Linked DNA regions of Homo sapiens: all the other regions are linked to region 1. Evidence: promoter capture Hi-C in 16 types of primary human blood cells and fetal thymus (Javierre and others, 2016). All regions are on one chromosome and are shown on one strand. The core of a region is centred on a gene start or on the middle of the fragment in contact, and the rest is flanking DNA. Distances in the headings are between cores, read along the strand shown. Region 1 holds the start of TNPO1 (transportin 1). Region 2 overlaps PTCD2 (pentatricopeptide repeat domain 2). Region 3 overlaps PTCD2 (pentatricopeptide repeat domain 2). Region 4 has its middle 80 kb from the start of PTCD2. Region 5 has its middle 86 kb from the start of ZNF366. Region 6 overlaps ZNF366 (zinc finger protein 366). Region 7 overlaps ZNF366 (zinc finger protein 366).

Region 1 (3,597 bases), core at 819-3,318:
TTTATAAATTTTAACTTCATTTTTGTCATTTAAAAATTATTAATAATTCTTCAAAGTTTTACCACATGAGCATATTTAGGTATAAAGAGAAAATACTACTGGATAGCTGCTATTATATGTGCAAACTGTCAAAGAAAAATAAAATAAGCCATGTTAATAAATCCTTGTTAATAAGATTTACTGTTTAAAACATGTTTTTTTAATTTGACCTAGAAGAGACAAAAAGGCTACATGTGTAAGAATCTCTATTCAACAGAACTATTTTATATTAGTATTTTCATTCACTTTAATTTTTACAAAAGAATACATATTTAATTTGCTTAATCTCAATTTTACAACATCTGATAATCAACATTTTTTTCTTTCAAAATGTTTTGGCCAATAAATCCTCTTATGCTAAATAATATGTTACTTTTTCTTCAATTCATTTCAGCTATTTCCAAACTATTAATCAAGTGAACTCCTACTAATTGCTTAGTCAGTAGTATTTACATCTGTCATTATTTGCTAATCTTTTGGATTTTAGAAATATTTGTGTTTTTTCCTTTAGCAAAGTAGAATGCAAATACTACACATCTTCTGATTTGTATAGATCCTAGTCCACGATGTAACTTTTCAAATGCAGAAATAAGCCATTTGTTATTTGGATAAATATACTTTTTCTGGGTATATTTTCCTGCAGATAAACTACCATTCAGAAAAGTTTATATTACATTTTTTTCTTGGTAATCTACTCCTATTTGGGGGGGGGGGCTCTTTTTGATATACACTACTGTATCCAATTACTATCAAATTAATATTATAACATGTTGAAATCATGAATATTTTAGTTATCTATATTTTCCCTTGCTAAGTTCAATTTCCCAATGATTAAAAAATGGTACTTTTAGTCTCAAATTTTAAGTTAAATAAACTAGTTGTTCCTGCAAAATGACTGTAATTCAAATGAAAATTGTTAACACGTTTAGAAGAACAAATAAATTACCTTAGTAAAAATTTAGACATTTTCTAGTATTATGTACTGTAATTTTACCTAAACTATGACAGGAAGGCAACAACTGTCACACATTTTCAAAATATATACAGCACTTCCAGTAAGATAGTCGGAACTGCTGGTATTTCTACTCACACTGATCATGTGAGGAATATTATCACGGGCATCATCACCTTAGAAAATAAAAATCAGCTAGCTATGCAAATTTTAAGTATTTTTATACAGTAAATTTTACATATAAGAATAATCTGAGGGAAGGAAACTGATATTTATCTCATTACCCTTGTTGCAGTTGGGTATAAAAACGTCCACCACTCCCATTTTGAATCATTTGCCGTACAGAAAATACAGGACATTTTAATTTCTCATGATGGCAGGTTAGGGAGAGAAAGGCTTGTTATTTCTAAGAGCAAGAAACTACAGTTTTATAGGATTGAACACCTGGAGGCGTAAACATTTTATAAATCACTGAATTCTAATTACATAGTAGTTTATACGCCAGATACAACATACGTCAAAAGCCTATCTTGTTCTAAGCGGGCAGCCATCCACCGGCGTCTACCTACCGAAGCCATTTCTGCTTTTTACCAGCGACGCTGGAACAGTGTTATTGTGGGATATGTTCAGTGTTGAACAGGCTCCCAGGGCACGGCTGTTACTTTGGAGGTTATGCTGGGGTACAGAAGTTAGGCTGGGGCAGGGCCATCCACCTAGGAGGGCCCAGCACAGTCTGGGCAACCACACCGGCGGGCCGTTTTGCTCACAGCCCCACCGCGCCGGGCAGCGTCTGCAGCTGCTGCGTGCGAGACCCAGAGGCTCCGGTCAGCGCGCCGGCCGCAGGGAGTGCGAGCACTTGTGAGCCCCGCGCCGGGCCGGTGAAGTCTGGTGCTGCCGAGCCCGCTTAGAAAGCACGGCCGCGCGCTGTCGGACGCAGGCCCACAGGCCCAGCCGACCCAGGCAGCAATTTTCCTAGCCCCGCCGCCGTTGCCAAGGCGACCGCCGCCGAATGTTCCCGCCGCGGGCTCCGCCCCCCGGCCAATCGGACCGGCGCTCGGTGAAGCCCAGATTCTCTTTGTTCCGCAGCCATTTCAGGCCCCGGACAGGAGGCAGTGCCGCTTCGGCCGAAGGCCCGAGCGCCCGAGGCGTCTGGGATGGTGTGGGACCGGGTAGGTGGCGTGAGGGTGCGCGGCCCCGAACTGCAGGGGCGGGAACGGAGGCTGGGAGCGCCGAGCTGCCTGACGCGCCTACGGGAGAGACGCCGGGCTCGCCCGCTCTCTCGGCGCCTGCCCGGCCGTTTGAAGCCGAGAGGCAGCGGCGGCGCGGTTCTAACCCCAACAGCTGCCCGCCCAGGCGCCCTGCGGGACCCGGGTAGGGAGCAGGCGACGGCGGCTCCTCAAGCGTCCGAGGATCCCGTTAGGGGCGGCAGGAGCCCGTTACAAGGGGCGGGAAGGGAAGGGTCTTACATTCAGGGGAGCGTTTGCCTCGCCTGTTAAGCTGTGGCGTTTGAGGGCCCTTGAGTGCTGCAGTCGGCTGCCCCGGGACGGCTGCCTTTCACTGGTTCTGGGCGCTGGCCGGCGCTGCCCGAGATGGGCCAGTCTTTGTCCCGCCCTGGGCCCCTCTGCCCGGGTCTCCTGCGTCCGCACACAGCGCCCATCGTCCTTACATGCAGCTTGCCGTTCTCTTCCTCCCGGCGGTTCTTTCTCCTTGGGGCCTCTTGGCCTCACGACATGTTTACATAATGTTTGTGACTGTACGAGTTTTGCGTGGGCTTGTGGGTTTTGCCCTTCTACCTCCACTCCCATGCGTACAAGCAACAGGGAACAGCTGCTGAGGAGCAGATTGGCCACCACAATCAAGCTATTTTCGGAATGACTTTCTTTAAAAATGATCGCGTGTTGCTTACTGATTTTAAAAATCAACTGGATTTTGCAAGGATTGCTTAGAGTTTAAGTCTGTTATCTTAATCGCTAATCAGGATGGTCTATCAGTAGATGTAAATGTAGAAATTTGAAATTGGAGGCTATCTACAAATTGATTTTGACAGCTGTATTAAGAAGCTTAATAACTGTCCTTTGAAACAGTAATGACTTAAATGATGAATGTGTAAGTGGTACTTTTTTTACCCTAAAGAAAAGATACTTTTAAAATTGCAAGATGTATGGTGTAATAGGTGTTTGGAAATGAAGGTTGTAAAATGGCTGTCCTGACGTACTACTCACTTTTAGAATAACAAAAGTTCCTGCAGCTTTTTAAGTTTCCCTGTTATATCAAAGCTTTCATGTTAGAGTGGTGAAGAAGCTATGTTTAGTGGAAAAGGGGAAAGTTCCGTTTTTTGGGAAAGGATCTGTTTTCCACTTTCACCTTACCTGGCACCGTAGTTGTTCCTAGAGAAGGCTGTGCCAGGATGAAAATTAGCAACCACAAAAGGGAAACAATAGTTTGTAGGTGCAGATATCTTTTTTAGTCTCTAGCTATGCAGTGCATAAATTTATACTAGCTTGGCAGTACGATTTTTACTTCATGCAATTTAACGTGAGCCTAATGAAGTACTAGTGTTCTGTTTTCTTTTTCCTAAAAGGGGCCGCCACCCTTGATGTGGCTGC
Region 2 (3,597 bases), core at 565-3,064, 490 kb before region 1:
TCATCTGCAGTCAGCTGGTAGCTGGGCTGTACTACATGGTCCAAGAAGTCCTCTCTTGAGTTTGTGATGCCTCATTGCTCCTCCATGTGGCCTCTCCCTGTCTTTCTGGAGTGCCTCATTATTCATTTGTTGGTTTGAGCTGCACTGGCCCACAGCCCAGATGGGAGCTGCCAGGCATGATAGAGCTGCCCAGAATTGGCATGGCTTCTCTTGGTTAAGGCAAGTTGCCTGGCCAGACCAAAGTCAAGGGGAGGGGAAAAGGATTCTACCTCTGGATGGATGGAGCCATATGCACATACAGAGAGGGAAGAAATTGATGGCAGCCATCTTTGGGGCCTGTTGCTCCCATCTAAGAAACCACTGTTAATATTTTTGCATTTTTTTTTTTCACAGATGTAAAGATTTCATTGTTTTGGTAGATTTTGCTTTACATTGTTATAGTTATTGCTGTGTAATTATTTTCTAAATATAAATATTTTCATGTTAATCATATCCTTAGGAATCATAGTTTAATGGCAATACAGTATTTATTATATGTTAGGTATTTTCATCAACTATGCCCATATTGTTGGACATTGAAGTTTTTTCTAATATTTCACCAGTATAAATAATGTCATGATGAGAAACTCGCTGCATAAAACTTACTCTTTGTTTCCTTTTGGGGATCAGGGGGTATGAACTTTTTAAAGTTTATCAATATATAACTGTCAGATTATTTTCCAAAAGTGTTATGCTAATTTAAAGTCACACTGTATCTACAAACTTAATTCCGTATTTCAGTTTCACAAAGTTAAATCATTTCCCTTTGGCATGTTTTCCTCTCATTTTACTACACAAAGCTATTCAATGTTTATAAGAGTAGTAAAATGAGATAAATATCCTGAACACTCTTTCTACTCTTATTTTTATCATAAATATTCAAAGTATGACTTAGTTCCTTTACTGATGCTAATAAATCTCTACCCAGTTGCTGACCTTTTCCCTCTCTACTTGTAGACAGCCGGACAAGTGGAAAGATGGGTAGATCCAAGGCTCCACCAACATGTTCTCTTTCTCCCTGAGTCAGGCAGCCCGTGGCTGGGAAAGGAGAGTCACGAGCTGAAACATAAGCTTTTTATTGAGCCAAAAATGGGGAGCATCTTAATACCCTCGTTATGTTGACCAAATGCTGTTTGGTTTATTGAGGGATTTTAGACCCTCTTGAACATTTCTTGTCCAGAAGGCAATTCATTATCTCAGTGACTTTCTAGCACTTTTATTAATGTGAATGTCATTTAGCATGTTAATGTCAAATCAGAAACTTTTTTTTTGCTTTCTTTTGCTTTTAATCTGGCACAAGTTTCTCATGAGAATATTTACTGAAATATGTTGATTTTTGAAGATGTTTTCCTTAGCATGCCTTACGTTTTATAAAGATTTATATGTTGAAGACTTGTGTGCCAGGCACATCATCTCATTTAATCTTCACAAAAAAACTGAGTTGGGTTCTCTTCTTCCTTCCATTTTACAGATGAGGAGACGGAAGCACAGAGTAGTTAATTAATTTGCTCATCATCACACAAGTAGAAGAGCTAGGATTTGAATGATCAGTTTGGATTCAGAGCCTGAAAACCCTTAACCACTATCCTATATTGCCTTCCAAAAACTTAATTTATAAGTGTTGTAATGAAGCAATGAATATTATTTATAACTTCTTTTTTTTTTTTTTGAGATGGAGTCTCGCTCTGTCGCCCAGGCTGGAGTGCAGGGGTGCTATCTCGGCTCACTGCAAGCTCCGCCTCCTGGGTTCATGCCATTCTCCTGCCTCAGCCTCCCAAGTAGCAGGGATTACAGGCGCCCGCCACCACGCCCGGCTAATTTTTTTTTTTTTTGTATTTTCAGTAGAGACGGGGTTTCACCATGTTAGCCAAGATGGTCTCGATCTCCTGACCTCATAATCCGCCTGGTTCGGCCTCCCAAAGTGCTGGGATTACAGGTGTGAGCCACTGTGCCCGGCCTATTTGTAACTTCTATAAGTGGATAATGAAATGTATCAAAGTACACCTCATCATTCTATTATGGTATCATTGTAGTATATGCATTTAGAATAGACTAGCGTAATACTACTCTGACTCCTCGATGATTTTTAGCAGAAGGTAAAAAGTATCCTGTTTTATCATCAGCGCTTCTCCCCAAGGTATTTTAGATTCACTCATTATATGAATCTAAATCTGAAAGAAATATGAATATGAAGATTCTTAATGAATAAGTCTTTCTAAAATCTGATTTATGTGTAATCATGAGGTGTTGATTTTGTCATATATTGTCCTCTTGGTGTCTAAAGCAAAAAGAATTGGTTATTGAAAGTAAATTTACAGTAGTGATATGCAGTTCTGACTGGCAGACTGGCTGCCTGTAGAAATCTCAAGCCACATAGAAGACATCATTATCTTTGAGATTAGCCTTTTCCTAAAACTTAAACATTCAAAACCACATTTAATTTGTTTAGCCAGGTGATCATAGCCCAGGTGTACCTTTCTCAAGCTTAGAAAAGCAGAGAGTTGCTGTAAATTGTAAATGTGACTGTTGGTTGTCTGCCATCCTATATGAGGATGAAACCAGCCTCCAGGAGCACAGAGCATCACCCCCACTTCTTTCCCTTGTTCTCCTCTGGGTGGGGCCCATTCTGATGCACTTACAGATGCTACTAGACTCCTGCTGTTTCTTAAGGTGTGCTCACACTCAGTCTAGGGGTTGTTTCTAAATTTAGAGAATGATTACAACATACGTTTTTCCTCTGTTTCTTTTATTTTATGTCAGTCTGCTGTAAATTCTGTTTACTTGTTTAAATGATTGGTGTACTTCTGCACTCCAGGATTCCTGATTGTCTGAAATCTCCATTTCTCCCCCTCCAGACTGTGAGAGGACTTCGTTCTCTGTTGTGTCCCAGTACCTGGCACAGTACCTGCCATAGTCTGTGTCTGTCCTTTTTCCTGTGTCCTACCTTTTGGCTCATTGAATCATTTTCATTACCAGGTACCATGCAGAGAACAAAAATTTCACTTTGGGGGAGTATAAATTTGGACCGCTTTTTGTGAGGTTGTGTTACGAGTTGGATCTCGAGGAATCTGCAGTGGAGCTCATGAAAGACCAGGTTATTGTTTCCTAATTGTTTTCTCTGCCAATGTGTGTGTTTTTGGTGATATTGGAAAAGGCATGTCTTCTATGTACATTATTCCTGGGTTAGATTTTCAAAGAAAGGCTGCTGGGGCTGAATGAGCACATCTCTGCATTTTTAAGTTTCCTTGCAGTCAGTTTGTGTGAAGGGGGGTGGAGTAATATAGAACAAGTGTGGAGGAGGTATAGGTACAGATGATCCTACCTTGGATGTGTATCAATGTGGGTTGTACACCTGCTTTTTTAGGGGCTTTCAATAGAGAAGAGCTTAAGACAGTCTCCATTTAAAGACTGACATTCCTATCCTTTACCTGTATTCCCTCTCGATTTTGTATTTGTATTTTTCTGGTTGAAGACTACATTTGGGAAGTGCTTTTCTATTTTCAAAATACTTTCCGTCACATATTCTGACTTTCTGTTCCTAAAAACAAAAGTAAATAA
Region 3 (3,597 bases), core at 366-2,865, 470 kb before region 1:
TTTGTAAATTGCTGGGGGAACCAAGCTCCTCTTCTTGTTTATTGTTATCGAGGGCTGGCCAGTTGCCTTGTACTACATAGCACTGCATTGAACAAGGTAGACTTGTCTTTGCCTTTGAGAGGACACCACCATCAACCAAACTGGGATGGTTTTTATTAACAAAGGTGTTAAGAACTGTGAAGAGTCAGAGATTTTATCCCACTTGTAAGCTAATGAGTTAGCCTGCCCCAGTTTCACGGATGCTAGTGGAGTATACAAGACACAGAGAAATAAAGGACAATTTATTATGTAGCAGTAGCCAGAATATTAGCATCTTTGCATCAGTTTCCTGAGCCCCAGTTCCTGTGGGGAGACATGAAAAGCTCTATGTGCCTCTTGCACACATAGGAAGTTGCTTTCAAGAGAGGAACCCTAAGCTTAGGAAACCCAAATCTCTTATAATGGCCAGTAAGCATGCCTGTCCTTTGCTTTGGATGCAACACTGTGTTTGTTGTCCACAAACATCCTTGAAAAGATAGTCTGGAATAAAAGCAGTCAGTGCTTTTGCTCTCAAGGCATGCAGAAATTTGAGAGACGCATGGAAAGTTGTCTCCCAAAAAGGGTGTGCTCGTGATTTTGCCTGGGCTTTAGAACACTGAATTTAAATTGGGTTCTTTGTATTTAGTTTACCTGGGATCATTTCATTCTGTTCTTCCGAACCAAAGACAACCCCTCATCCTGATAAGTTACTCAACAAATGCAAAATGTTGCCAAGTAGACTGGTAAGAAAACATAGCTGGTTTAATATAAAAAAGGTAAATCTCTTCCAGGAAAACTATCTTTGTAAGGATCAAGAGCCTTAAAAATGTCTCTATGCTTTGACTTGGTAATTTTACTTCTGGGAATCAAGTCTAAGACATTACCAGTTTTTAAAAGTACATATGTGCACATTGTTCAGTATAATAAAGTATGGTATATTTCCGTGATGAATTGCTATGTATGTGTTAAAAATGAGGTTTCTTTTTTCTAATATTAATGCTATGAGGAAATAAATGTCTGTTGTGTAGTAATTGACCAAAAGTAGAATCAAATTTTGGGGATAAGTTAATATATTTGGAAGATTTATACATCAAATTATAAACAGTGGTTGTAACATTGGTTGGTGAGTTCTCAGTTATTCTCACTTTCTTTAAACTTCTTCTTGAATTATACTAGTAAATATTGGTAATTGGGGGGAGATGTGTTCTTTTTTCTTGTGTTAGTTGCACAAGATAGTTGTGCACAAGTTGGTGGAAGATAGGTGGTAGTATCATTCCGAAAGCACACTACAGTACCCAGTTTTGAAAGTTCATTAATAGATAGCGTAAATAGGAGTGCCTCATTAACATTCCAGCCAGCTTCCACTCTGTGCCTGCAGTAACCTGTGTGCCTGCAACTTCCTAAAAACAGAAAACGCTGAAGGTACCATTTGCCCCTAGCCAGTTACTGTTATCCATTTTCACACTGCTATAAAGAATTGCCAGAGATTGGGTAATTTATAAAGGAAAGAAGTTTAATTGACTCACAGTATCACATGGCTGGGGAGGCCTCAGGAAATACAGTCATGGGGGAAGGCGAAGGAGAAGCAAGTGTCTTCTTCACAAGGCAGCAGGAAAGGGAGAGAGCAGGGGCAACTGCCACTTATAAAACCATCAGTTTTCATGAGAACACACTGACTATCATGAGAACAGCATGGGGGAAACTGCCCCCATGATCCAATCACCTCCCACCATGTCCCTCCCCCGACACTGGAGATTATCATTCGAGATGAAATTTGGGTGGGGACACAAAGCCAAACCATATCACTAGTCTTATGAGATTGATTGTCATATCCTCTGAATCTAGAGGATGTAGAAAGGAGGAAACCAGTATTTTTGTTCATTGAGTATCTTCTGTATACTGGTATTTTATTTAATGTTCATAAAACCCAAAATGTGAGATCTAAATCTATTTTCCCCATTTTACAAATGAGGGCATTTAAATTGAAAGATTAAGTACCAGTCCAGAGTCACTTAGCTGGTACTTGCCAGTGTCTAGATTTCAGCCCGAGTATCCAGACACCAAAATCTCTGCCCTCTCCAGTGTTACCCGTAAACAAGTTTTGAAGTTGTAGTATTTTATTTTATTTTTTTGAGATGGAGTCTTGCTCTGTTGCCAGGCTGCAGTGCAGTGCCGCAATCTCGTCTCACTGCAACCTCCGCCTCTCAGGTTCAAGTGATTCTCCTGCCTCAGCCTCCCAAGTAGCTGGGATTACAGGTTCATGTCACCACTCTCGGCTAATTTTTGTATTTTTAGTAGAGATGGGGTTTCACCATGTTGGCCAGAATGGTCTCTATCTCTTGACCTCGTGATCTGCCCACCTTGGCCTCCCAAAGTGCTGGGATTACAGGCAAAGTTGTAGTTTTTGATTAACTATTGGAAAGCACATTTTGGCTCGTAAGTGTACATTTAAAGCACGTTTTTGAACTTGTGTAAGCAAATAAATTAGGAAGTAGGATCAAAGCAGGGTAGGTGCCTATAAATGAAGGCTTATCTAACCAGGTACATTTCTCAGCATTGAGACACTCACTCAGTCTTGGTTTTGCTTGTGTCTTCTTAATATTCAGATTATAATCCATATCCAGTCAAATATGTTGGAAAACCTGATAAAGACTCTAAAAAATGCTGCAGAAGGAAATTTATCAAAATTTGTGAAAAGACATGTGTTCTCGGAGGAAGTGGTGAGTATGCAAGTGCTGCAGAAATCATTTAAAAGTGAAAGGACACTCTTAAAAATGTCCACTAATTTCTCAATTCTAAAGCTTACCTTAAAGAAATTGCCAAATATGGCAGCTTCTCTGTTGTTCCTGTTTTAAGACTTCCATGTATATGTGCAAAGATTTTTTTTTCTTCCAACAGAATATATCCTCTGAAATTCTAGGAAACTTTTCCCTTTTACCTTATTCTTTTCTCCACATTGTATTCATGGGCCCTGGCTCTCTTTTTCTTCTAGATGACGATTTTACACCTTTTTCCTTTTCCCTCAAGCCTTCAATACCTTCTCCTCACTTTTCACTCTCAGTTGATCACTGTATTTCTTGTTTCTTGGAGAAAATAGAAGTAATCAGAAAAGCATGACTGCTACATAGAGAGCCTCTGGCCCCTTGCCCTATATACCCATGATGACTGGATACATCTCTCACACCAGCCTCTTCAGTCATGCACTGGATCCCATCCTCTCTGACCCACTCCACAGCATCAGTCCAGAAGTTGACTCACTCTTTTGGCTATCATCAGTATCCCCTTCCCTGTGGGTCATTCTTGTCAGCAAACAGTAGGATATAGTATCTCTCATCTTAAAAAATAAAAAGAATCTTCTGTACAAATGAAAAGACAGACCATATGTTTAGATAAGAAGACCTAGCCTCATAAAAACTCAGTTTTTTTCAAGTTACTGTGATAATGTAATATGACTCCAATAAAAATATCACTTTGTTTTTTCTGTAAAGGTTAGTTGAAAGAACAAACAAGACTAGCTAGAAAAACCCTGTGAAAGAGGGGCAGTAAGAGTTGCTAGGTCTAGCAGATATCAAAGCATGT
Region 4 (3,597 bases), core at 646-3,145, 420 kb before region 1:
TTAGTCTTGCCCATTTTAAATTGGCAGAAGGGAATCATACCTACATAAAATGGATTTAAAGCTAGAAATATGCTTATAGAATGGGTAGCAAAAAGAATGAGACAAGTTTTTTCTGTTTTCTTTTCTTTCTTTTTTTTTTTTTTTAAATTCTGAGAGAAAAATGTACCCAAAGAGAGGAATTCAACTTGGGAGGAAACTAAGAAAAGATTCAGTATTACCAAGTTTTAAGAATTGAAACTTCCAGGGAGAAGTAGAGACAGAATGTGGTTCACACACCATGGGAATGTGAAGGGAGGGCTTCAGCCAGAGGGTGACAAGTGTCACCCATGGCTGACAGTGGGAATGAAGAGAGGTGGCCTTGATTGCTGGGTGCTGAATGTTAAGCCCTCAGTCATGACCCATTTAGTGTAAAGGCAAAGGAATGGTGGGATGGACTGAAACCCACTGGTAATAAGAAAAGATTAAGCAGACAATAGAAGGCATGATGTGAGAAAAGGGACATGAATGACCCCAATGGTACATTGTCTTTTTTTTAATAATTGAAGAAGATGATGATATTTAGAGGGTCTGGCTAAGAAAATGAGAACCATTGATGTTTACGAAGTAGTACCATCTGTGAAATTTATTCTGTTTTACTTTATGGTTATAACTGTTTGCAGAACGGTCTAACAATTGCAACCAGACTTCTTAGAATTTCTTTTTTCCTTTCAAAAATAGCCGCTGTATTTTTGAAGATCTTTGTGTTGGGATTAAAGCCCTAAAGGCATTGTACATGAGAAAATAAGATCCTGCAAAAGCTTTTAAAGGATGAATTAGGAGTTTGAGCCCATTTAGGAAAGAGAGAAAAATCCTCCTTAAGGGGAAGTGGGAAGAAAAATGAGGAACAAAACTGTAAAAGAGGTAGACTACAGATGTTTACGTTCACTAACTGTGTTATCGGTTTCTGAATGTGGTGTGAAAAAAATTAATAGATGATGATTGACTAGGAAGTGCTAAAATGGAGAGAAAAGAATGAATTCTTCAAAATGGGGTTAAGCTATTTTTGTTATTGTTGTTAGGCAGTTATTATTCACTGAACTAGGTTTTCATATTTTGATTTTTAAAGTATAGGAATTATGAAGATAAAGGAAATGATATTTGGGAAAATATAAGGCTTGCTTTGTCATTTTAAAACTTATTTTGTAGCACTTTTCCCACTAGAATATGTTGCATTGTTAAGTTGAAATCTGGTTAAAATCTGTTGAAAAATCCACAACCAGTATTTTCTCTATGGGATAACAACTATGAGATGACTAGAGAAAATACTGGTTGGGTGCTCAACTCTTAAGCAGCAAAGACTTAGAAGGGAGGAATTCAGAGCAAGAATTTTTTCAAGTGGGCAGATGTAAGGCAAAGTAGCAAAAGGGATTTACATCGCTTCATGTAAAGCGATGGGAAATAATGTGGCAAAACAAGCTGTTTGCACCTCCAATCCTCAGGAGTGGTTTGTACTCAGACTATCAAAATGGCAAAGTTGGAATTACTCTGTTCAAAACCACATGCTTATTTACTACATGCTAAAAGATGAAAAGGCCTACTTACATTTCAGCCTGTTGAATATCAAGAGCCCCTGTTAGGATTACGATTCTTTTGATTGTAAGGAACAGTGTGGTCCCATGCTAATGCAGGAAAAGGACTCACAGGCTGAAAACTCAGGGGAATCTGATCACTAGGCTGTGCGGAGGGTGAGAACCAGGGCAGCCTTGGGCTCTGGCTAAATCCTTTTCTCTGACCCCTTGCTCTCTCCTTCCTTTCCCTCCCCTTTCCTTCCTACCCCGCCCTTCCCCTTCTCTCCTCTTCTTTCTTGGCAAATCTCCTTTCCTCTGTCTACTGAGCTGGTGTAAAATGGCTTCCTCTAGCTATCCCACCTTGTCTCCCTCTTTTTCTTGAATTTACACAGGCTGAATCCTCGCCCTGGACTGTTCTCCCTCTTCTTAGCCTGACTAGGTCCTGTCTGTTCTCTCAGAGTCTTCTCAGGTACAGCCTCTCCCAGGTAGCTTCTGTTGATCCCCTAAGGCTGAGATAAGTGTCCCACCTGTGAGATCCCAGGATCACAGTTATTAACCATGCCATCTCGGGTCCTTCCATTCTGTATTGCATGGCCTGACTGCTTGTCCCTTCCCACACTGCACCATGAGGCCCTTGAAGGCAGGGATGAAACCACCTTGCAAAAATTATAACAGTGAGAAAAGTATGACAGTGAAAGAGATCTGATATAACCAATCTCCATCTTGCCTTTAACCTCCAAACTGCCCTTAGTCATTCCTGGGCTTGGCCCAAGCTAACTTTGGGAGAAATGTAGTTTATAGTTTAAATAATAACTGCCCTTCCCCAAACTAAACTGCATTTGCAAAACTAATGGAAGACTACCAGGTTAGGAAGATGAGAAGAGCCTGAAATCTGCTAAAATGTAGGCATAAATGATTACCAGCCATTATTCTGGAGGTCACAAGGTTTGCACCTTCCCCCAGTTATTCCTGCAGATAACATCACTATTATAGAATCTAAGACTGGCCTTTTGAGATGTCTTTTCAGGCTTTTGCATTTCTGCAAATGTCCCCACCCGGACCCACAGCTCTTGACTCAACTGGTCCTATGGCCCCCATCCAGAAGTGGACTCAGTGTGCAAGGACTGTTTTTCACACTCTTATGATTGCATCCCCAAACAATCAGCAGCACCAATTCCCCTTCCCACCAAATTATCCTTGTAAACCCTAGCCTCTGAATTTTTGGAGATACTGATTTGAGTAATAAAACTCCTGTCACCCAGTCAGCTAGCTCTGTGCGAATTAAACTCTTTCTCTATTGCAATTCCCCTGTCTTGACAAATTGGCTTTATCTGGGCAGCAGGCAAGGATAACCTGTTGGGCTGTTACAGGAAGTATCCCTTGTTTCCCCAGCATGGAGATATCTATGAATGGTATGCCCTAGGGTTGTACAGTGACCCCCTGACCAGAAGCTTATTGGATATTTATTGAATAAATGAATGAGTGAATAAATAAATCTATCACTCACATTTCTGAATTACACAGAAATTGTATTGTCTTCTGTATTTGTCTTCATCATCATGGTATGCATCAGATTTGCTTAATTCTAGAGTTTAATTTCAGAAATCTATAGTGCAGACCAGGCATGGTGGCTCATGCCTGTAGTCCCAGCACTTTGGGAGGCCAAGGCAGGCAAATTGCTTGAGTCCAAGAATTCAAGACCAGCCTGGGCAACATGGCAAGACCTCATCTCCACAAAAAATACAAAAAACTAGCCAGGCATGGTGGCATACACCTGTAGTCCCAGCTACTCAGGAGGCTGATGTGGGAGAATCATTTGAGCCTGGTAGGTGGAGGTTACCGTGAGCAAAGATCGTGTCACCACATCCCAGCCTTGGCAACACAGCAAGACCCTGTCTCAAAAATAAAAATTATTTTTTTAAAAAGAATTCTATAGTGCAAATTAGTACAGGTCTAGCATTAAGTAAAATTGGACTGACACCAATAAAGAAGGACCCTGAGTCATTTCTTGTCTTGGATTCCTTGATTGAGAATTTCAGTAGCTGATGTA
Region 5 (3,597 bases), core at 463-2,962, 400 kb before region 1:
ATAACATTAAAATTTTATTATGCCACTCACCCACAGTTAATCATTGTGAATACTTCGGTGTATATCTTTCTAGAATCTTAATAAATATCTTTCTAAATTATCCATAAACAAATTTCCACACATAAATGACCCATAGCAGTAATTTTTAGATTCAGTCTTACATCTAGAGTATTTACTATTTCTTCTAGCTCTGAGTCAGCCACAAAGTGGCTTCTGTGTTTTTGTGCATGTTGTTGATAAAATATCGTATGGTATAAACAAAAACAGAATCCCGCCTCATAGCCCAATATTTTTCCCTCCGGAAGACTACTGATTCACAATTCAGCACTTCTTGTGTAGCAGTTTTTAACCAGTTAGAAATTCACGGGCCGGACGCGGTGGCTCCTGCCTGTAATCCCAGCACTCTGGGAGGCCGAGGCGGGTGGATCACGAGGTCAGGATATCGAGACCATCCGGGCTAACACAGTGAAACCCCGTCTCTACTAAAAAATACAAAATATTTGCCGGGCGTAGTGGCGGGTGCCTGTAGACCCAGCTACTCGGGAGGCTGAGGCAGGAGAATGGCGTGTACCTGGGAGGCGGAGCTTGCAGTCAGCCCAGCCGAGATCGCGCCACTGCACTCCAGCCTGGGAGACAAAGCGAGACTACGTCTCAAAAAAAAAAAAAAAAAAAAAAAAAAAAAAAAAAAAAAAAAAAAAAAAATTCGTGTACTTGCACTCTTAGTCCAGTTTTCTATGTTATTCAGACGGATAATGTGAGGGGCCTTATCTGTTTAAGTTACGATAATATGCAGCCTACAGATACGATAATATGCAGCCTACAGATATGGTAATCTAACTCTTGTAATTCCCAAATAACCGGGCTTCATATTAAATTGACTATTTGTAGATTCCAAACTTCAATATCGTACTACTGGCCAGGCGTGGTGGCTCATGTCTGTAATTCCAGCACTTTGGGAGGCTGAGGCAGGAGGATCACTTGTGCCCAGGAGTTCAAGACCAGCCTGGGCAACGTAGTACGACCCTGTCTCTATTATATATAATTTTTTTAATTGTATTGCCTTACCGGCTTTCAGAAATAAAGCCATTTGTCCATCTCCAATTTTCAGACACTTTTTCTATTCTTTTTGATTTTCCAAAAATTAATGGCAGCGATTCTACAATTATTTTTATTAGTTCTTATGTCTTGAGCTAGAATGTATCCAAGTCTGAAGAATCAAAGTCTTTCACGAAGGCTCCTTGTTCTCTTACTATCTTGGCCCCTATCTTGGACTTCAGTGCAACCACGTTTGTTCTACACCTTCAGGTTTTGAAGCTTTCTCATTTTCATAGAGAAGACAGAAGCAAAATAGAGCTGTAAAGAAGTTCTACTCACCATCTTCCATTAGCTTTAGAACTTGAGCCTCATTACACAGTTCCGGCCATTTTCTCTCTGGTTGTATCCAACAAAAGCCATTTTGATGCCTCTAGATTTTTTCATAAGCTTTGATTAATTTTTTTTCTTGGCTTCAGCCTTCTGGCTATAATTTCGACTCCTCTCCACCAATCTTTCTTTTTTCTCCTAGTCAGGTACTACTTTTTGATCTTGTGTGTGTGATCTTTTACAATCTGATTCCACTGAAGTGGCCTTAGCCACTCATTTGCTTCCTTACCTTCCTGTCTGTTTTCTTTTACCCCAAGATCATTTTTTAAAAATAATATCTTCAGATTTTTTTATAGACTCTTAGGCCACTTCTCCTTTTATATAAAGGCTCTAGCTGTATTAAAATACCTATCTCTCTCTTAAATATTTGAAATCTCAGATGCCTCATTCTGCTTTCTGTCTTCTTCTGGACACAATGGAGAGTGTATGGATATCATTCAATAAGGTTCTTAGGTTAGTAGCAGCAGAAACAGACTATGGCTACGGTAAACAAAAATGGAATTTGTTGGAGGGATTATCAAGAAGCTTAAAGCTCATGGTCAGAATCAGACTATACAACAGTCAGAACCAGGGTGGCTCCAGGAGTTTATTCAGCAAGAATTAATCTGTCCTGGTGCTAATAAAAGAGGATTTCAAAAGTTCATGGAAAAACAAAATTGAAAGATAAAAATTACAAAATATAAACTTTATGTCTCAACATAAGCTCCATCAAGGTCAAGACGCTTTTGTAAGCCATGATACCAGCCATTTAGTCCATCCTTAAAGAACTGAGGGCCCTGGAAATGTAACCATGTCAATGAAGTCTAATTTATATATTTAACAGAATAAAAATGGGTGCCCTTTAAAAAATTTTTTTTAAGATTAGGAAACAAAGAGAAGTCAGAAAGAGCCAAATCAGGACTGTAAGGTGGATGCCTAAAGATTTTCCATCAAAACTTTTACAAAATTGCCCATGTTTGATGAGATGAATGAGCAGGAGCATTGTTGTGGTAAAGAAGGACTCTCCAGTGAAGCTTTCCCAGGCGTGTGTTTGTGTGTGTGTGTTTCTGCTAAAGCTTTGGCTTTCTCGAGCACTCTCATAATAAGCAGACACTGTTGTTATTTGGCTCTCCAGAAAGTCAACAGCTAAGTGAGTTGAGCATCCCAAAACACTGTTGCCATGACCTTTGCTCTTGACTGGGCCACTCTTGGTAGCCATTGCTCTGATTGGGCTTTGTCTTCAGGATTGTCCTGGTAAAGCCATGTTTCATTTTCTGTTACAGTTCTTCAAAGAAATGCTTCAGGATCTTGATCCCACTTGTTTAAAATATCCATTGAAAGCTCTGCTCTTGTTTCAGCTGATCTGGGCACAACAGTTTTGGCACTCATTGAATGGAAAGTTTGTTCAATTTTAATTCTTCAGTCACATGTATAAGCTGAACCAGTTGAGATGTTTGTGGTGTTGGCCATTATTTCAGCTGTTATTATCAGCCCTGTTCAATTAGGGCACTTAATTGTTGGCCCTCGTCAATTATGGCAAGAACAAGATGATTTTTTTTTTTTTTTGCAAATTGATGTGGATGGTCTGCCACTGCTGGCTTCATCTTCAACACGGTCCCATCCCTTCTTAAAATGAGTTATCCATTTGTAAACTGCTGATTTATTTGAGGCCATAAACTTTTTGTATATTTTGTGGCCCCAAATCTTTAGAAAGCATCATTGTGCCCATAAACTTTTTGTAAAGCATCAATGATTTCACCATTCTTCCACCCAAGCTTCATCATAAATTTGATGTTTGTTCTTTCTTCATTTTTAGCAGATTTCATGTTGCTCTGATATGGCCTCTTTTCAAACTGAAGTCTTATCCTTCTTCACATGCCTCAAACTAGACCCTATTCAGATATGTTATAACAAGTTAGTACAAGTTTATTTTGGTACACAAAATTGAAATTCACTCAGTTTTTTCATAATATTCACTTCCATGAACAATTTGAAGACACTTCATATACTTCAGATTAAAAATCTTAAGAGAAGCAGTGAGTCTGATTGGCCCAGCATAGGTCAGATGCCTATCCCTTGGCTAGGGGAGGCTAGGGAACTCTGATTTACATGTCCAATAAGGCTACAGGCAATGGGGAGGTGGTAATGCTCCCAGAGGAAATTGAGATGCAATTACCTGTAGTGGGGTGAATACAT
Region 6 (3,597 bases), core at 769-3,268, 370 kb before region 1:
CTGCTGGCTCTGGGGGGCCAGGCCAGGGCTGTAGGGCTCCACCTCGTAGCAGTTATCCTCCTCTTCCTCCTCGTGGCAGTGGCTGCCCTGGGCACTCTCCCCGTCTGACTGGAACACCGGCACCTTGGCCCGGCGCTTCTGAGAGAGGTCAAAGGGCTCCTCCTGCTCCAGACTCCTCAGGACACCGGCTGTCTGTGCCAGGGCGATTCTCCCCCTTCCCAGACCTGCAAGAGCAGAGTAAGAATTCATGCACCTGAGGAAATGCTGTGGAAATGGGACCTTGAGGAAGGGGAGCAGCCCGGGGCCGTTTAATGTATTCCGATGCGTATTTTAAAAATAGATCATTCCCAGTAAGGATGTGGTCTTGGGAGGCTTGTAACAGACAGTGTCCAAATCGGTTTAATCCCTTTAAGGTGAATTTGGCAACATGCACCAAAAGCTTTAAAAATAAGCTTTGACTTAGCAATTATGCTACTGAGAATTTAAACTGAAAAAATAGGCAGGCAGGTGCACAAAACACTGTGTGGATGCATATCACCATATTTTTTTTTTATCACAGTCAAACAATGAAAAAACTTTGTATTTAATAATAGGAGTTTGGTTAAATAAATAATGATATATCCATATAGCAAATTATGCATAGGGGATGTAGAGACCTACTAATGATCACAAAAAGATATTTGCTATGTATTTTAAGTAAAAACAAAAATATATGTAAGTATGTGTGTGTGTATTTATTTATAGTGCAGACCTGATTTTATCTAGCTAGCCATTTCTATTAAAAAATATTTGGAAGGAGGGATGTCAAAATCTTAAATTAATGAACACTCTCTTTTCACTTTTAATGTATTATTGTTTTATTTTTTACCATGAGCATATGTTTTATCATAAACAAAAGTAAATCAATAATAAAGCCATTTTCATCTTGAACAAAACAAAGAGAACCTATTTGGGGCAGCAGACACCACCCCTGACTGTGGCCCCTTTGCCAACAGCCTACTCATAGACAGGGTAGAGATGGCATGAAGAGGTCCTCTGAGGAGCTCACACAGCCCCTGTGTCTGACCTCCAGTGTCCCTGCTGTTGGGCACAGTGATTCAAGGAGGCCTCACTTTTGCCTTCAGTTTGCAGGGCTGTAGGGATGGGCTTTTCAGCATGGCAGTTTCATTTGATCCTGTCTTTAAGGCTTTGACCTTTGATGAGCCAATAGTCAGGCCTCCAGGGATGGGCGGGACACTGAGGAGGAGCAACAGGAAGGGAGGGGTCCTGGGGTGCAGCCAGACCAGGCTTCTGGGAGGGGGTGAAAAAAGAAGGGTAGGGGCGATGATGTCCAATTTTGTTCACTTTTTGATGCTGTCAGGCAATGAAGCTGTCTGTATCTTTAATCCTGTCAGGGGACAGGAAAGATCTTTTTAATGATTTTTGAGCCATTTCAAAAGCTAGAGTGAAAAATAAAAGCTAATACCCTTTGTAGATGAAAACACTGAGATTGTTGAAAGTCTGTTAAAATTTTTCAAAGCAACCCTCTGATAGTTATTTTTCCAGAACAACAGAGCTGTTAGGTGTCTTTTAGGATTTGAGCAGCAGTGTGGGGTAAATCATGGCGACCAGGTCATGCTTTCAGTTGGAGTGTGGTCTCCTCACTGACTTGTATGTCTCCCGTCCTGATGACAGAGCAAACCTCACCGCTTCCGGAAAAATCCAGGTCTAGCTTGGGGAAGTGGCTCAGGCAACTAGAGATTCAGTGAATAATTCAGGGGAAAAACTTTTGCAGGAAAAATAAAATTGTTTTTGTTTTAACTACAATTTTTTTCAGGGCTTTTGCACAAACTCCAGCCCTTTTTTTGTGACCACAGCTCCCTGTTATCCAGGAGTCACTAGAAACTCAGCGGGTACTGTAAAAAACCTGAAAGCTACAATCATTTTGTTTCACACTGTGTGTGCATATGTCTATCTGTTTATGAATATGCTTGTCCACTCCACCATCTCTTTTGTAAGGAGGTGAGTGAAACAGCACATAAACAAATCACCCCATGTTTCTGCCTAGGGTAGTGAGCACTGGCTTGATTCAGAAATTGGGCTGGAATCCCAGTTCTGTCTTCAGACTTGCTGTTTGACCTTGAGCAGTTTATCTAACACCTCTAGGCCTTGGTCTCCTCTTATATAAAATGAGAATAACACAGTCTCTTTCACGGCATTGTAGGGCCAAGCAATAATGTCCCTAAGGTGTCTCACCCTGTGCTTTGATCATACTAGTGACCGAAAAGCTGTTAATATGATTTTGCAAACACAGACATCCTAGAGGGCAGATGGTCTCCTTCCCCTAGTATCTGCCGCTGCGTGTAGTTCACTGCTTTGGACACAAGTGCATTTATTGCCTGTTTATTGAAGGGCTGGTTGATTAGACGATTAAGGAGCAACCCTGCTGAATTGAGTAGATCTGGAACATAAACTCTTCACTGCCAAGGGCTCTGGGACTGAGAAGGTAAAGGCAGTGAGAACTTTTCATTAGTTCAGTGAGGATTCAGTGGGGGAGGTGTAAACCCCTGCTCTGCATATGGGCCAATCAGCCCTACCTACCAAGCAGGAAAATTGTCCTTGGGTGTGTCTGATTGTGAACAAGTAGGAAAGACCTAGCCTGCTACCAACATACTTCTGCTAACAGTAAGGCTTGCACATCTGTTTTCTAAAAAGGAAAGAAAAATTGCGTGCCCATTCACAGCAAAGTCATGAAGAGGATACAATAAAGGCTGCACAGTCAGAAAGGCCTAGGTTCAAATCTTGACTCTGCCACTTTTCAGCAGAGCAACTTTGGGCAAATTGATCTCTTGAAGCCTTCATTCCCCCGCTGTAAAATAGAAATAATAGAAGTTCTTCCAGCTTGGAGTTGCCATGAATATTAGCGACAAGCCACCTGATGTAGTGTCTGGAACAAAGGAACAAATAATGGTACCGACTGGCATCATGATGATAGTCCAATTTACTCTAATTCACTTGTACTTACTATGTCAGAAATTAGCATCAGATTTTTTCTAGTAACATTATAAGGTTACTCTTGCTACTCTGCTGTGGTCTTGACAAGAATAACCCTCAAGGTAATGCCCCATAAAACGAATTCAGCTCCCATTTGTTGTCCACTGGACTGACTTGCAGGGCTTCCCAGAAGAGTGATTACCTTGGGAATGAAGGCCCCGCTCCATGACTCCATGCTTGACTTTCATGTGGCGTGTCAGGTTCCCCTTCAGGGTGAATTTGCTTGGGCAATAGAGGCACTTGAAGGGTTTGCTGTCTGAGTGCAGGTGCATGTGGCCCATCAGGTTGTGCATCCGGTTGAATTCCTTCCCACAAAGCTGTTGAAGATGGGGATGAGAACACAGGTTACTCTGCCCGAGTGAAGCCCCATCCAGGCCCCTGGAGCACAGATACCGTTTCTACTTTGTTTGGACATTGACATTTTAATCTGCTTGCAAGGAAAATGTCCATAAGGAAATCAGGAAGGAGCCTCAGAGGTGGAGCAAGTAGGGGTAGATTCATGAGATTTGTTCCTGGATTTCAGAGATCTTTAAATTCAAAGTAAAAATATCAAAGCTTGTAAAG
Region 7 (3,597 bases), core at 794-3,293, 320 kb before region 1:
TACATGTTATTTTTATCATGTACTAAATTCCCATATACATTTTAGTTCACTGATCTGCCATCCATTCATGTGTCAGTACACACACTCAATCCTCTATTCTCTGACTCCAAGTAGCATTCTTTCCTGCGTTACTCACATTCTCAAAACAACACACAGTAAGTGAATGAAGTGCTTTATGAATTGCTAGTAGTAACACTTAAATCTTCTCTCATTTTCTCCCTGCCCCCACTAGCTAACAATATTCAAACTCTTTTTAACATCACTAAGAAAAATATAATTAGGACAGTAAATCTGTTTGGAAGTTTAAGAGATTGAACATCAGATACTACATTCTTGAGTCAAACAATTTGGGGCTAACCCATTGGCTCATAATCTTTTATAACAACCAGTGATTTTGGGTAGGCAGTGTGTGTATGTATACACAAGTGTAAGGTACATGTACCATGTACCTAGCGATAGCACTTCAGCAAACCACTGCTCCTCCCAAAATATCCATATTGCTTGAAGAGCAAATACATTTGGCATTTTATGTCCTAATCCTTCTGAAATGGGATTTTCTCACCATTAAATGTCCTTCCCAACTGCATGTATTAAAGATGTGATGCTGAAATTTCTCTCCTAGGAGACTCAAGGGGGAAAAGAGTCAATGTCAGTCATTCTAAATAGTGGGATGTGTCTGAACATATGGAGGATGTGAAGACACATGGAATGGGACTGCCTTCTGCAAAATGATGCAGTTTTGAGCAGAACTTTGTTACCCACAAAACTGGTGTCTCTATTCCTTCACAAACATCCCCATTTAGATCTGAGGCCCAGGCTGCCACCAGAAGAACTCTCTGCCCCTGGAGACTTCTCCCCAGCCAGAGACAGGTGATTGTGCCATGAAATCACTGGGTGCTAGGAGGGCTGCAGACCATGTTGGAGGAAACGCCTGCTTGCCTGCTGCATCACTGATTGTTTCCTGAATATCAAGAAAGACGATGCTGGGAATAGTCCCTCCTTGCCCAGATCTCTGAAAAGCCAGGTAGGAGGTGAGATTCTGGATATGCCTGCCAGCAACCTTTCAGAACTTTTCACATATTCCTCACCCTAAGAATTCAAATTCTAGCACTTCAGGAATCCTGCCTTTTTTTTTTTTTTTTTTTTTTTGAGACGGAGTCTCGCTCTGTCACCAACCCCGCCTTTATAGATTAAGCATAGAACTCTTTGGTACCCTAAAAATGTTCAATATATAGATTTTTTAGGATAATGCTAGAAGACCCTTCTTTGTACTTAAAAAAGAAAAAAACAACTGAAAAAGTTCTCTGGAAGTAGGGGTGAGAGGAGGAAATTCCACCGTGTCGTGGGAAAGAAAATGCCTGAACTAGAAAAACAGCAAGAAACAAGTGGTGGACACTATGGAGGTAGGCGTTCCATTAAACAGCGCTGAAAACCTGAAATTCCTCATCTCCCTGCACTTTCCATGGAAGGTGGCCAGAGGGCCTCAGTCACGGGAGAGATGCCATGGGCTCCATCCAGGCAGAGGCCCCATTTTGTCCAGGCTTCAGCAAACCAGAGGCGATTCCGGTCCTCTCCCTCGCTCTCTTCCGGCGCTGCTTCCTTCCCCCACCCCTCCAACAATAGTCTCCTCTTGATTTCTGTTCCAAGAGAGAACGGTGAGTCCCCAGTGCAAAGGAAACTCTAAGGATTCTTTCCACAGAGTTTTCTCACTGGGAAGAGGGAGGCGTGTGGACTGGCGTCTCCTCTTTGGCTGTGATGCTGGAGAAGCGGGTCCTCCCTTTCTCCCTGAGGAAGACACAGGGCAGACAGCAAGATTTCTCATCCTTATTCTCAAGCATTCAAAGGAAGAAAGCGGCAGAGTACGTTTTCTTCCTGGAAGAACTCTGCGGTGCCCTAATGTGTGCACTATGGTTTTAAATGTTTTTTTCAAGCTACTGAAAAAAGCTAAACTATTTTTTAGGGTAATCTGCCTGAAATACTCATCACTACCCTCCCTGGGGGCTTCCTTACCCTGAGCCAGCAGCTTGAATAATAAGCAGAGCCTTGGTCCCCTCTTCAGCTTTGTTAGATCTGGGGAAAGGCCTAGAAATCTGCCCCAGGTAACTCTGATGATTGGTGCTCAGAAAGCACCTGAAAATAATACCCTCGCCCTTTCTGAGAGTGCTAGGATCCCATGATATGGAGTTAACTTCATGGGAGAGATCACAGAAATCATGCCTACTGTTGCTCAGAGCTGAATAGATTGGAGACTTGTCCAGTAATGCCACTATTTAATAGGGAGGTATGTTGTCTTGGACAAGGTCAAAGTTAACAAATGGCTTTGTAACTCCTTGGAATAGAGTCCTACATTCCCTGATCAATCTGTGTGCAACAGTCCAAAACCATAAGGCAGTGCTGCTCAGACTTGAATGTGCAACTGGTCACTTGGAGATCTTGTTAAAATGCTGATTCTGATTCAGTTGATCTGCAGTGGAGCTGGGATTTATTCTGCATTTCTAACAAGCTCCTAGGTGGTGCCATGGTGTTGGTCTTTGGACCCCATTTGAAGGCTACTACCTTAAAGGATACATATTTGTTTTAAAGAAATTATTAGCTACAGATGACACTTTTTCCTTATAAGGAAACTGAAAACAAGCAACATTAATTTACTGACCTTGAGCAAATCACGTACTTTCTGTAGTTTATCTGTTAAACAAGGTGGTTGCCTTTCTTCAGCTCTAAGATGAGGAGAATAAGGCACGTACTTGAGAATGGGGTAAGTGAAATGAAGTATCTAAAGTTCTGAGGAGGCCCCAAACCTAGTAATGACTCCTCCATAATTGTTGGCGCTGGTGGTGGCAGTGCCGTTGTTGGTAAATCACTCTCCCATTTAGTATCAGTGGCCATCAAAGAATGAGGTCAGAGTGGGGCCATAATCTATCAAAGGAATATAGGAGAATTGCCCAGTATTCTCTTTGTGTGCCCTGGTACTTGACACTAAAGAGAGATTCTATCAATGTTAATAGAGAGTGCCTTTTCAGTTTCTACTCCAATTAACAGACACCTAGAACCCCAATGTTGTTAAATGTAAAAAGCATCATCCAAAATCCCAACTTTTGTTACTAGGTGTTTAGATTTGCCACTTTAAATTTGCCAAATAAGTATAAAACTGACTCGATCCAGTGGTTTTGGCCTTCTTCAATTGGCTTGAATTAAAGAAAGGAAAGGGTATTGTGCTCAACAAGGGTATCACATTTCTCTCCCTGAATTTACCCCATGGTGTTTTGTCAATTCAGCCCAAGTGGCATTCCTTTAGCTTGGATTCACAGCCTTTGCCTATAACAAACCAGAGAGCTGAACACTTCCTACAAGGCTGGATCCTGGCTCACAGCTCTTTTAGTCAAGGAAAAACAAATGACCGTTCTCTGTCTCGCCAAAAACAATTTGCAAACCCATCATCTGCCCAGAAAATAAATGGAAAATAAAATGCAACAACAGTCTTTTCTGTGTATCTATCTGATAAATGTTAATTTCCCATGAACAAATGGGTGGGGGTGCTTGCCAAGACGACATTTTAATACACATGTAGCAGCCCCATGCACACAACAGCAGAACAAG

Evidence for each region. Contacts are between HindIII fragments. The CHiCAGO score rates a contact against its expected background, and 5 or more counts as called.
Region 2: a contact is called between a fragment that was not itself captured here and the fragment with the promoter of TNPO1 in region 1, in 4 of 17 cell types (total CD4 T cells, M0 macrophages, total B cells and 1 more). The highest score is 7.1, in total CD4 T cells.
Region 3: a fragment that was not itself captured here is called in contact with the fragment with the promoter of TNPO1 in region 1 in 7 of 17 cell types (M2 macrophages, M0 macrophages, M1 macrophages and 4 more); the score reaches 19.0 in M2 macrophages.
Region 4: a contact is called between a fragment that was not itself captured here and the fragment with the promoter of TNPO1 in region 1, in 3 of 17 cell types (M2 macrophages, M0 macrophages and M1 macrophages). The highest score is 7.8, in M2 macrophages.
Region 5: a fragment that was not itself captured here is called in contact with the fragment with the promoter of TNPO1 in region 1 in 2 of 17 cell types (M0 macrophages and M2 macrophages); the score reaches 6.7 in M0 macrophages.
Region 6: a fragment that was not itself captured here is called in contact with the fragment with the promoter of TNPO1 in region 1 in 3 of 17 cell types (M2 macrophages, endothelial precursors and M0 macrophages); the score reaches 8.4 in M2 macrophages.
Region 7: a fragment that was not itself captured here is called in contact with the fragment with the promoter of TNPO1 in region 1 in 2 of 17 cell types (M2 macrophages and M0 macrophages); the score reaches 6.2 in M2 macrophages.

Annotation. Positions count from the first base shown.
Region 1 is chr5:72,814,593-72,818,189 of GRCh38, forward strand. It overlaps TNPO1 (transportin 1), which reads left to right and starts at 2,069. Exons shown (of 25, transcript NM_002270.4): 1 at 2,069-2,160. The coding sequence starts at 2,146. It overlaps TNPO1-DT (TNPO1 divergent transcript), which reads right to left and starts at 1,956. Exons shown (of 9, transcript NR_186518.1): 1 at 1,561-1,956. RefSeq lists enhancers at 1,636-1,715, 2,796-2,845 and silencers at 1,976-2,075, 2,116-2,335. The HindIII fragment of the contact is 3,194 bases long and covers 1-3,049 here.
Region 2 is chr5:72,328,243-72,331,839 of GRCh38, forward strand. PTCD2 (pentatricopeptide repeat domain 2) reads left to right here. Exons shown (of 10, transcript NM_024754.5): 4 at 3,016-3,133. Among named protein-coding and RNA genes, the nearest start is that of PTCD2, 9.7 kb to the left of the region's middle. The HindIII fragment of the contact is 1,413 bases long and covers 1,109-2,521 here.
Region 3 is chr5:72,350,017-72,353,613 of GRCh38, forward strand. It overlaps PTCD2 (pentatricopeptide repeat domain 2), which reads left to right. Exons shown (of 10, transcript NM_024754.5): 9 at 2,625-2,738. Among named protein-coding and RNA genes, the nearest start is that of PTCD2, 31 kb to the left of the region's middle. The HindIII fragment of the contact is 2,403 bases long and covers 415-2,817 here.
Region 4 is chr5:72,398,291-72,401,887 of GRCh38, forward strand. No RefSeq gene overlaps it. Among named protein-coding and RNA genes, the nearest start is that of PTCD2, 80 kb to the left of the region's middle. The HindIII fragment of the contact is 2,201 bases long and covers 796-2,996 here.
Region 5 is chr5:72,419,894-72,423,490 of GRCh38, forward strand. No RefSeq gene overlaps it. Among named protein-coding and RNA genes, the nearest start is that of ZNF366, 86 kb to the right of the region's middle. The HindIII fragment of the contact is 465 bases long and covers 1,481-1,945 here.
Region 6 is chr5:72,444,068-72,447,664 of GRCh38, forward strand. ZNF366 (zinc finger protein 366) reads right to left here. Exons shown (of 5, transcript NM_152625.3): 4 at 3,176-3,350; 5 at 1-224. Among named protein-coding and RNA genes, the nearest start is that of ZNF366, 62 kb to the right of the region's middle. The HindIII fragment of the contact is 3,136 bases long and covers 451-3,586 here.
Region 7 is chr5:72,498,354-72,501,950 of GRCh38, forward strand. The region is part of intron 1 of ZNF366 (zinc finger protein 366); the gene reads right to left. Among named protein-coding and RNA genes, the nearest start is that of ZNF366, 7.3 kb to the right of the region's middle. The HindIII fragment of the contact is 4,706 bases long and covers 1-3,597 here.